2 separate regions of the Homo sapiens genome follow, and region 2 is linked to region 1. Evidence: promoter capture Hi-C in 16 types of primary human blood cells and fetal thymus (Javierre and others, 2016). All regions are on one chromosome and are shown on one strand. Each heading gives the region's core, a stretch centred on a gene start or on the middle of the fragment in contact. The rest is flanking DNA. Distances are from core to core; before and after follow the strand shown.

Region 1 (5,183 bases), core at 944-3,443:
ATATATAGTAGTCAAGAGTTGACTCAGAGAAGCAGGCAGCAGGAGTTAATACTGACACTTATTAAACAAAGTTGAAAACATTTGATTTACAACTGATTGGTCTTATAAATACAAATGGCCATGATTATGGAAAGAATCTGAAATAAATTTGGAGTAAAATATCAATACCAGTATACAACCAATACTGTAAAATGATTACACCAATAGCATGGTTTTAAGGCATATGGAGGTATGAAGCGGGAAATAAACTTTCTGACTTCTATTGTGGTTTTTTTGTTTGTTTTTGTTTTTTGAGACGGAGTCTCGCTCTGTCACCCAGGCTGGAGTGCAGTGGCGCAATCTTGGTTCACTGCAACCTCCACCTCCCGGGTTCATGCAATTCTCCTGCCTCAGCCTCCAGAGTAGGTGGGACTACAGGGGCTCGCCACGCCTAATTTTTGTATTTTTAGAAGAGACACTGTTTCACCATATTGGCCAGGCTGGTCTCGAACTCCTGACCTTGTGATCCACCTGCCTCGGCCTCCCAAAGTACTGGGATTACAGGCGTGAGCCGCCATGCCTGGCCGACTTCTATTGTTATCAGCAGTTCTGCAATGTTTGGGAACGATACAATCTGTAAAGGAGTCCAAAAAAAAAAAAAAAAAGCATGTACCCACAAAATCTACAAATAATCTCAGGACCCAAGTGACCATATGTCACAAGGGTAAGGCAAGGTATAATCAGCCATTCAGAAACAGGTACGTAACTAACAAAGTCAGGGATAAGAATCTCTAAAGGCTAAATATTTTCTGTGTGCAGGGTGCTGTGCACTTAGCCACCAGGCAGTCTCAGCAAATCCTTTGAAAGGGTAAAATTGCTCATCTCCAGTTTAATCTTTACGGAGTATGGGGTGGTGTATTGGTCGGCTCTGTCTAATAGCTGGCAGGAAGTTCTGCTCTTCTACCCAAGGTGACATTACAGCACTTTGGAAATGTTATCTCAATTATTCTTCAATCTTACCCATTTATTAATGTATTCAGCAAACATTCATGGAGTGCCTACTATGTGCCAGGCATTGTCTTGCCCACTTTGTAAATTTGAAAATTATGTTCAGACAAGATGAGCCATATAGCTTTTTCTTTCTGAGACAGGGCCTGGCTCTGTATCCCAGGCTGGAGTGCAATGGCACGATCACAGCTCACTACAACGTCCAACTCCTGGGTTCAAGCGATCCTCCCCTTCAGCCTCCCAAGTAGCTGAGACTACAGGCGTGTACCACCATTCCCGGCCCAGAAGCTTACTTTAAGTCAAGCAATGGCTGGAAGGCTCTATGTCTGGGCCACTAATCACGTTTGATCACTTGTATCCCAGTGAAGAAAACTCACTGCTAAGCACTTCTGCGAGCAATAGTTGAACTCATTAGAGACGGATAGGTCAATCAGGGAAATAAACAAACCTGCTTCGCTCCCTCGGAGAACTCTGTGATGCTGAACTCTTTGTCGAAATAGGCCCAGATAAGGAAGGCCTTAATTCGAGTCCTAACCCAGTTGATGGGGTTGGAGAATCCCAGGACGATCATCTTGGTTTTCTGGTGCTGCTGGGGCTTCTCCTCCGTGCTGTAGCTGCGCTGAGGGCAGGCAGGGAAAGAAGCGAAGGCTGCGGGGAGTCCCGGGCTGCTGAGCACTGGCCACCGGGAGCCCTGGGCAGGTAGCGCCGAGGCTGCCAAGGCCCTAGCGCTTCGTGGAAATAACGCCGCTCCCAAGCCGAGGCGACAGCGGCAGAAGTAGCAAAGTGTGGCCGACGGCAGCCTCACCTCGGCCACAGCAGGAGTCCGGAGTCGGACGGCCCCGCAGGGCAGCGACCGAGAGTGCAGGAACTGGGGTAGCAAACGAGCGGCCAGCGCCATTTTTATGACCCTTCACACCGGTGCCTGCCGGTGCTGTATGGAAAGGAAGTCGGTGGGAAACCGCCTCAGCGGTGTCGGAGAAAGAGACTGGAGAGCAAAGTGGACCTGTTGCTGCAGCCTCTGGTGAGTCGGCCCCGTCCCCGCTCTCCAGCACGCAGCCCAGGCCGAGGCCCTTCGGCAACCCGCCCCGCGCTCGGACCCAGCCACTCTGGAGTCTGCCGGCCTCGCGGACCTTTTCTCTGTCGCTCGTGTTTCCGGGCGGATGGCGCTGAGGAACGCTTTAGAGCCGAAGTTCCGAAGACCTGGAAGAGGGCAGGCGTGAGCAACCATGGCCGGGCAGCACCTCCCGGTACCCCGGCTGGAGGGCGTTTCTCGGGAGCAGTTCATGCAGCACCTCTACCCACAGGTGAGGCCCTCGCGCGGGGCAGAACCTCGAGAAACCAGCGAGAGACACGTCTTTACCTTTCGGACAGCTGGGAACTGGTTTTTAGAGACCCAGGGTGTGGGAAAGAGGCGCAGGACGGCAGCAGATCACTGGTTGGCCCTTAGACCAAGGGAAAGGTGCACGGGGGACGCCGACTGGCTCCTCTATTGAAATTTCCGGAGAAAGTCCCATGTTTCTGGGGAGCAAGATGATGGCGGAGAGCTGAGTGCGAGAGGTATTTTGCCTAAACTCTTTACTCCGCATCTGTCAGTCTGCTCCGAATTAATGGATTTGAAGGCACAACTTTTCACTCCACTGAGCCAAAAAGGAAAGCAATGGGATTCCCCCGGAAAACTCCTACTCGTCTTGAATTCTAACTTACTTAGGTTCTAGTTCCGACATTGGAGTCTTTTATACCTGTAGTTAGAACCTTAGGTCTTTAAAAGAAAACTCATAGAGAAATATTAGGGAAACAAAAAGTGCTTTTACTTGCAGTGCTTTTCAAGGGAGTCCAGACCTAAGAAAAACAAGGTATTAAAAGGAAAAATCCACAGGATTACAGTAAGTCAGTTTATGGTAGGAAAAATACCCAGCAATTTTCTTACCTGATATTTACATTTATAAGGGTGGTCATAGAATTACAGTTCTGGGGCCGGGCGCGGTGGCTCACGCCTGTAATCCCAGCACTTTGCGAGGCCGAGGCGGACGGATCACCGGAGGTCAGGAGTTCAAGACCAGCCAGTAGAAATCCCATCTCTACTAAAAATACAAAATTAGCCGGGCATGGTGGTGGCCCATACCTGTAATCCCAGCTACTCGGGAGGCTGAGGCAGGAGAATCGCTTGAACCCGGGAGGCGGAGGTTGCAGTGAGCCGAGATCGCGCCACTGCACTCCAGCCTGGGCAACAAGAGCTAAACTCGGTCTCAAACAAACAAACAAAACTACAATTCTGAGTGTTACAAAAGTCGGATGGGCTGGGCGCCGTGGTTCATGCCAGTAATCCTAACATTTTGGGAGGCCCAGGTCGGTGGATCACTTGAGGTCAGGAGTTCAAGACCAGCCTGGCCAATATGGTGAATCCCCGTCTGTACAAAAAATACAAAAATTAGCCGGGCGTGGTGGCGCACGCCTGTATTCCCAGCTACTCTGGAGGCTGAGGTCGGAGGATCTGCTTGAGCCCGGGAGGTCGAGGCTGCAGTGATCCATGATCCTGCCACTGCTCCAGCATGGGCGAGAGGGTGAGACCCTAGCTTAAAAAAAAAAAAGGCGGGGTTGGGGGGATGCGGGAGGAATGAAGTTTTTCTTTTGATAGCAACCTACGGGAGAGGATTCAAGCCTTTATTAGTTTGGAGACTTGTACTAGATGGGTTGTTCTTGCTCTCCCTGTCCTTAGACACCCCCTATCTCAGAATGTGCTAGACGTAAGTTGCCTAAAGGGCAGTGTTGTGAAGATTAGGGTATGTGGAAGTGCTTTGTAAGAGTCATAGCAAAAGGTATTTTGTAATTTAATCTCTTCAGACAAGACATACAGCACAAAGCATCATTACATTTTAAAAAGTCGAAAATTACAAACAACTTTCTCTGGCCATGGGCAGTAAAACTAGAAATTAATAACAAAATTGGAAAAAAAGACCTTTCTATCTGGAAACACTAAAAAGTATGAGGGGGCATAGTGCTATGAGTTTTTTGTTAAACATTTTCTAATAACTCCATAATTAACACTGTATATTGTACAGGTACATGAATAGATAGACCAAGGGAATAGAATAGAAAGTGCAGAAATACCTATTCCTATGGAAATTTAGTGTATAATAAGCATGACATTTCAAAAATCAATAAGGCACAAAATGACTTTTTAAAAAATAGACTGTTTTTTCGAGGCTTTATAGGTTCACAGCACAATTGACCAAAGGTACAGAGATTTCTCATGTCCTTTCTGCCCTGACACATGGATAGCCTCCTCCATGATCAACATCCCCTCATTAGAGTGGTATATTTGTTACAATTGATAAACCTACATTGGCACATCATTTTCTTTTTCTTTTTTTTTGAAATGGAGTTTTGCTCTTATCGCCCAGGCTGGAGTACAGTGGCACAGTCTCGGCTCACGTTAACCTCTGCCTTCAGGGTTCAAGCGATTCTCCTGCCTCAGCCTCCTGAGTAGCCAGGACTACAGGCACCCGCCCCGACGTCCGGCTAATTTTTGTATTTTTTAGTAGAGGCGGAGTTTCGCCATGTTGGCCAGGCTGGTCTCAAACTCCTGACCTCAGGTGATCCGCCCATCTCAGCTTCCCAAAGTGCTGGGATTACAGGCGTGAGCCACCGCGCCCAGCCTGGCACATCATTTTCACCCAAAATTCATAGTTTATATTAGGGTATACTATTGATATTGTACATTCTATGGGTTTGGGCAAATTTATAATGAAATGAATCCACCATTATGGTATTATACAGAGGAGTTTCACTTAGAAAATGATAAAATTCGGTTTATATCTCACACTGTACACAAGAATAAACTCCAAGTGGATCAGAAAAATGTAAAGAAATGAAACTACACAAGTTGTGAGTACACTCGGCAATACAAAACAAAATGAAGCTACACAAGTGCTAGTAGAAAATATGGGTAAATTCCCCTATAATCTAGGTCTATGGAAGGCATTTCTAGCTATGACTCAAAATTCAGGTGTAATATTAGATTAAAATTTGACTGCATGAAACATTTGTATGCCAGAAACACTGTAAGCAAATTTGAAAGACAAATACAAAGTGGGAGAAAATATTTGCAACATTTATCTCATATAAAGGACAGTAAAAGCCCTTGTATGGAAAGAACTTTCAAAAGGGGGTAAAAGGCTGAAAATCTGGTAGAAAAA
Region 2 (4,704 bases), core at 927-3,426, 1.5 Mb before region 1:
CTTGGCAGCTTCTCATAGCGCCTTATCCTCTGCCATACAGCATCCATCTGGAGCCCTGTCTTTTAGGATGAGTGGCTTTAGGGTCGGGCATTAAACCTTAAGCTTCAGTCGCCATCTGTGATGTAAGTGGGAGGAGAGGGTATTGGAAAGAGCTCTTTCTGGGTCAAATAGAGTTGGGCTTTTCTTGCAATTGATTTTGAGCCAGATGCCACATATCTTGAAAAAGAAAAACGGCTGACTTTAGTTTGAAGCGTAAATAATAGATATTCGCACATGTCCTTTTTAGTAGCAGCCCAAAAATTGAATTTCAACTTAAAAAAAAATCTGCGTCATAATAATAGGGATGTTACTTGCTCTTGCTCATGCACCTTTTGCTTAGACCTGCTGTTTCTACGTCAGAAAAAAAAAAAAAAAAGGTAACTTCACAGGATATTCATCAAGTTGATGGAATGGACCATAGGAACAAAAGGAACACTTTCAGTTCTTGGTCTCCGTAAATCTTCCCGACCTTTAGATCTTTGCTGTTGACTTGGAAGTCTGAGGTACAGTAGTCTCCAAATAGCAGGTTAATGGTGGTGACATGACACTTAAAAACAAATTGTGAAGGACATTTGGAGGTGAGAAAGGTCAGGGATGAAGACATTTTATCATCCTAGCAGTTATTCCAACTTTCTTTTCTTTTTTTTTTTTAAGACAGAGTCTCGCTCTGTCGCCAGGCTGGAGTGCAGTGGGGTGATCTCGGCTCACTGCAACCTCCGCCTCCCGGATTCAAGCGATTCTCCTGCCTCAGCCTGCAGAGTAGCTGGGACTACAGGCGCGCACCACCACGCCCAGCTAATTTTTGTGTTTTTAGTAGAGATGGGGTTTCACCATGTTGGCCAGGATGGTCTCGATCTCTTGACCTCATGATCCACCCGCTTTGGCCTCCCAAAGTGCTGGGATTACAGACGTGAGCCGCCACACCCAGCTCCAGTTTTCTATTTTTAAAATTAAGTAATGTCCAGCAAGTCTCAGACATTTAGCAAGCACATACCATGTGAAAGACAGTGTTTTGTTATCTTACACACTTATTCATATGATGGAAGAGGTTTGTTAGAAAGAACCAACATTTGGCCGGGCGCTGTGGCTCACTCCTGTAATCCCAGCACTTTGGGAGGCCAAGGAGGACAGATCTCCTGAGGTGGAGAGTTCAAGAACAGCCTGACCAACATGGAGAAACCCGTCTCTACTGAAAGGAAATACACCAGCCTGGCCAATATGGTGAAACCCCGTCTCTACTAAAAATACAGAAATTAGCCGGGCGTGGTGGCACGCGCCTGTAGTCCCAGCTACTCGGAGGCTAAGGCAGAAGAATTGCTTGAACCCGGAGGCAGAGGTTGCAGTGAGCCAAGATTGCACCCCTGCACTCCAGCCTGGGCAACAGCGAGACTCCATCTCAAAAAAAAAAAAAAATTAGCCAGGCATGGTGGCACATGCCTGCAGTCCCAGCTACTGAGGAGGCTGAGGCAGGAGAATCGCTTGAACCCAGGAGGCGGAGGTTGCGGTGAGCCAAGATCGAGCCATTGCACTCCAGTCTGGGCAACAAGAGTGAAACTCAGTCTCAAAAAAAAAAAAAAAAAAAAAGAACCAACATTTTAGTATTTGCAATCTGCCAGGCACCCCAGGTGGGAGCTCTTCATACTTTAGCTCACTTAATCACTTTAACAAACCTATCACACTAATCTGAGGCTCAAAGACTTGCTTATGTAACAAGGGGAGATTTAAATCTAGATCTGCCTTGCTTCCAAGTCACAGATCAGGTAACTAATACGTACTTCAGAAATTATAGACTTTAAAGGTTGAGTGGTTAAAGAGGATTGTCTAGTGTTATTGTCTAAGACTGGTTCCAACACACACCTTGGACATCTGGAATAAGTCCTGAACCCCTGCTTTAGTACTTTTGAACAAACTGATTCTCTCTGCCTACAATTCCCATTTCTTACTGAACTGCTCAGTAAGACCCGAAAAGCCCATTCCAAATCCATCTCACTTATGTAAGAAATTATAAGACTGGACTTTTATCAAAAGGTTCTTTTCAGTTTACAGGTTTTGTGAGTCTGCAAATAAAAATATGACCCTGCTGGGTGTGGTGACTCACACCTGTAATCTCAGCACTTTGAGAGCCCGAGGCAGGAGGATGACTTGAGACCAGCCTGTTCAACATAGCAAAACCCCATGTCTACCAAAAATAAAAAATAGCTGGGTGTGGTTGTTTGTGCCTGTAGTGCCAGCTGAGATCAAAGGATCCCTTGAGCGATGATGGCACCACTGCACTCCAGCTTGAGTGACAGAGTGAGACGCCATCTCTAAAAAAAATTAAAATACGAGCAGAGAAGTGTTATTCTCCACTGAAACTTTCTTTGCTTTAGTGCCCCAAATATGTTAAATACCAGTATAAGGAATGAGACAGATAATGTCTTATTTCATGTTTATTGTGAGCTCTCATTATATTATCTGTACCAGTTTTGAACCTCTTTAGTTACCATCCTGTTTAGTTGGTAAGAAATAGGAGGCAAAAAGGTAATAGTCACATTTAAATGACTTAGTAATTAAAAGAACTAAATTATTCATAGTTGAGTCATTATCTGTTCAGATCTGCAGTGTTCTTATAATAATAGGAAACATTTATGTAATACTATGTGTTAGATAATGTTTTACCTATATTAACTTATCCTCACAATAGCACTGAGGTGTTTTTATAGATAGGCAACTAAAGCAAAGAGAAGATAGTAAATATACCAAAGGTCATGTAGCTACTACATGGTAGTACTGAGTGTCAGAGAAGACAAGATCAAAATCTGTAATCTAACATTTATTGAGAACCTACTGTGTACCAGCCCCACAGCTGGGTGCTTTCATTATGAGTTAGTCATTTGTCTTTACAACTACCTTATTTAAAATGGAAGTTCAGCATGTAATGACTTGCTCAGAGTCACAGATAAGTAAACTGTGGAATCAGGATTTGAACCCATGCTTGTCGTACTTCAAGGTTCCTGTTCTTTCTTTCATTTTCCTTCAGTGATCAAATCTTTATTAAACACCTTCTGTGTGCCACACACTGTGCCAATGCTAGGAATTTAGTCTTTGCTCTTAAGGAATGTAGTTTGAAGAAGGAAAGAGACAATTAACATAGTGTGTTGAGCAATGGGATCACAGCTTGCCGAGGTACTTTGGGAGCACAGAGAAAGAACACTGAAGTTACTCTGGAGTGGGAAGGCTTGGACCAGTCTTGGGAAAACAAATGGGAATTAGCCTGGGCAGAGAAAAGGGGAAGGGGTTGTTATGGGCTGAATTGTGTCCTCCCAAAATTATATTGAAGCCCTAACAGCCGTAACCTCAGAATGTGACTGTATTTGGAGACAGGGCTTTGGGGTGATTAAGTTCAGATGAAGCCGTTAGGGTGGGTTCTAATCCAGTCTGACAGTTTTCCTTATAAGAAGGAAATTTGAGCACAAAAAGAGACACAGGAGTTGCACACACAAAGGAAAGACCATGTGAGGATTCATCAAGAAGACCAAGGAGAGAGGCCTCAGGAGAAACCAACCTGCCAACACCTTGATTTTGGACTTCCAGACTCCAGTATTGTGAAAAAATAAATTTCTGTTGTTGAAGCCACCCAGTCTGTGGTAGTTTTTTATGGAACCCCTAGCAAACTAACAAATAGGTGTTCTAGGCAAAAGGAATGACATACAAAAAGGCTTTAAGCTGTGGTTAGGTGATAGAAGTTGACATACAAAAAGCCTTTAAGCTGTGGTTAGGTGATTGAGGTTTTTTGGTGAAGAGATAAATGTTGAGAGAAATGAAACTGGAGACTAGGCTGGGGCTGGATTAGGAAGATTTTACATGAGATGCCAAGGGGCTTAAACTTTATCCTAAGGAAGATGGGATGGAGGTGGTTTGTAGCAGTGGAAAAGCATTAGATTTGCATTTTAGAAAGACTAAGACTTGTAAAGGATAAATGAAAGGTAATAAGACCGGAGACAAGGTAACCAAGGTAGCTAGTGCCACAGGATGCTGAACTAACAGTTTTCCCAGAATATTGAAATGTCTAACTAAAACAGAGCCACTGTTAATATAACATTATAAAGGGCACAGCTAACCCTTAGGGTGTACATAAGAAGATAGGGAAAGAATTTGTATATAGCTGTTTGTACCCAGAGGCTGTCTTTATTTTGACATTTTGCTTTTCCTTGTATAGATCATAAAGCTTTATACAACTATCAGAATATTCAGATTTTTCCACTCTAAAAAGTGATCTTATGTATTTAATAGACACTTTTATGGTGCTGACACAGATTTAAGCCAAATTCTTTGACAACCTTTTGAAATACCTACTATTCATTTTAAACGTAAACATACTGAAGCACAGAGAGATTAAGTAGCTTGTCCAAGATCACATAGCTAACAGGCAGCAGAGTTAAGATTCAAACTCAGTCTGTCTTTAGAGTCTGTGTTCTTGGCTTTACACTGTGCTGTTGCTATATGATATTTATCTAGCTCTTTATTTGTGAAAAGAGGGCAGAGTAATACAAAAATAAGTATGTTTGCTGTAAGAGGCATGCAGTTTATCAGAGGAGATAAGGAACAGCTCTAAGGTTTTAAAAACTGTTTTAGAGAAGAGCAGAAAGTGTTCGGAGGCAATACCTCCTTCAAGTTGGGGTTTCT

What was found. The method cuts DNA at HindIII sites, captures the fragments that hold promoters and counts their contacts. A CHiCAGO score of 5 or more calls a contact.
Region 2: a fragment that was not itself captured here is called in contact with the fragment with the promoter of TYW5 in region 1 in 1 of 17 cell types (monocytes); the score reaches 5.3 in monocytes.

What each region holds. Positions count from the first base shown.
Region 1 is chr2:199,952,501-199,957,683 of GRCh38, reverse strand. TYW5 (tRNA-yW synthesizing protein 5) reads left to right here and starts at 2,193. Exons shown (of 8, transcript NM_001039693.3): 1 at 2,193-2,291. The coding sequence starts at 2,214. It overlaps MAIP1 (matrix AAA peptidase interacting protein 1), which reads right to left and starts at 2,102. Exons shown (of 5, transcript NM_001394955.1): 1 at 1,436-2,102. The coding sequence starts at 1,885. RefSeq lists enhancers at 1,670-1,769, 1,790-1,949, 2,120-2,239, 1,350-2,549. The HindIII fragment of the contact is 7,808 bases long and covers 1,278-5,183 here.
Region 2 is chr2:201,446,400-201,451,103 of GRCh38, reverse strand. All of the region lies in intron 1 of TRAK2 (trafficking kinesin protein 2), which reads left to right. Among named protein-coding and RNA genes, the nearest start is that of TRAK2, 2.7 kb to the left of the region's middle. RefSeq lists enhancers at 1-33, 1-291. The HindIII fragment of the contact is 4,144 bases long and covers 105-4,248 here.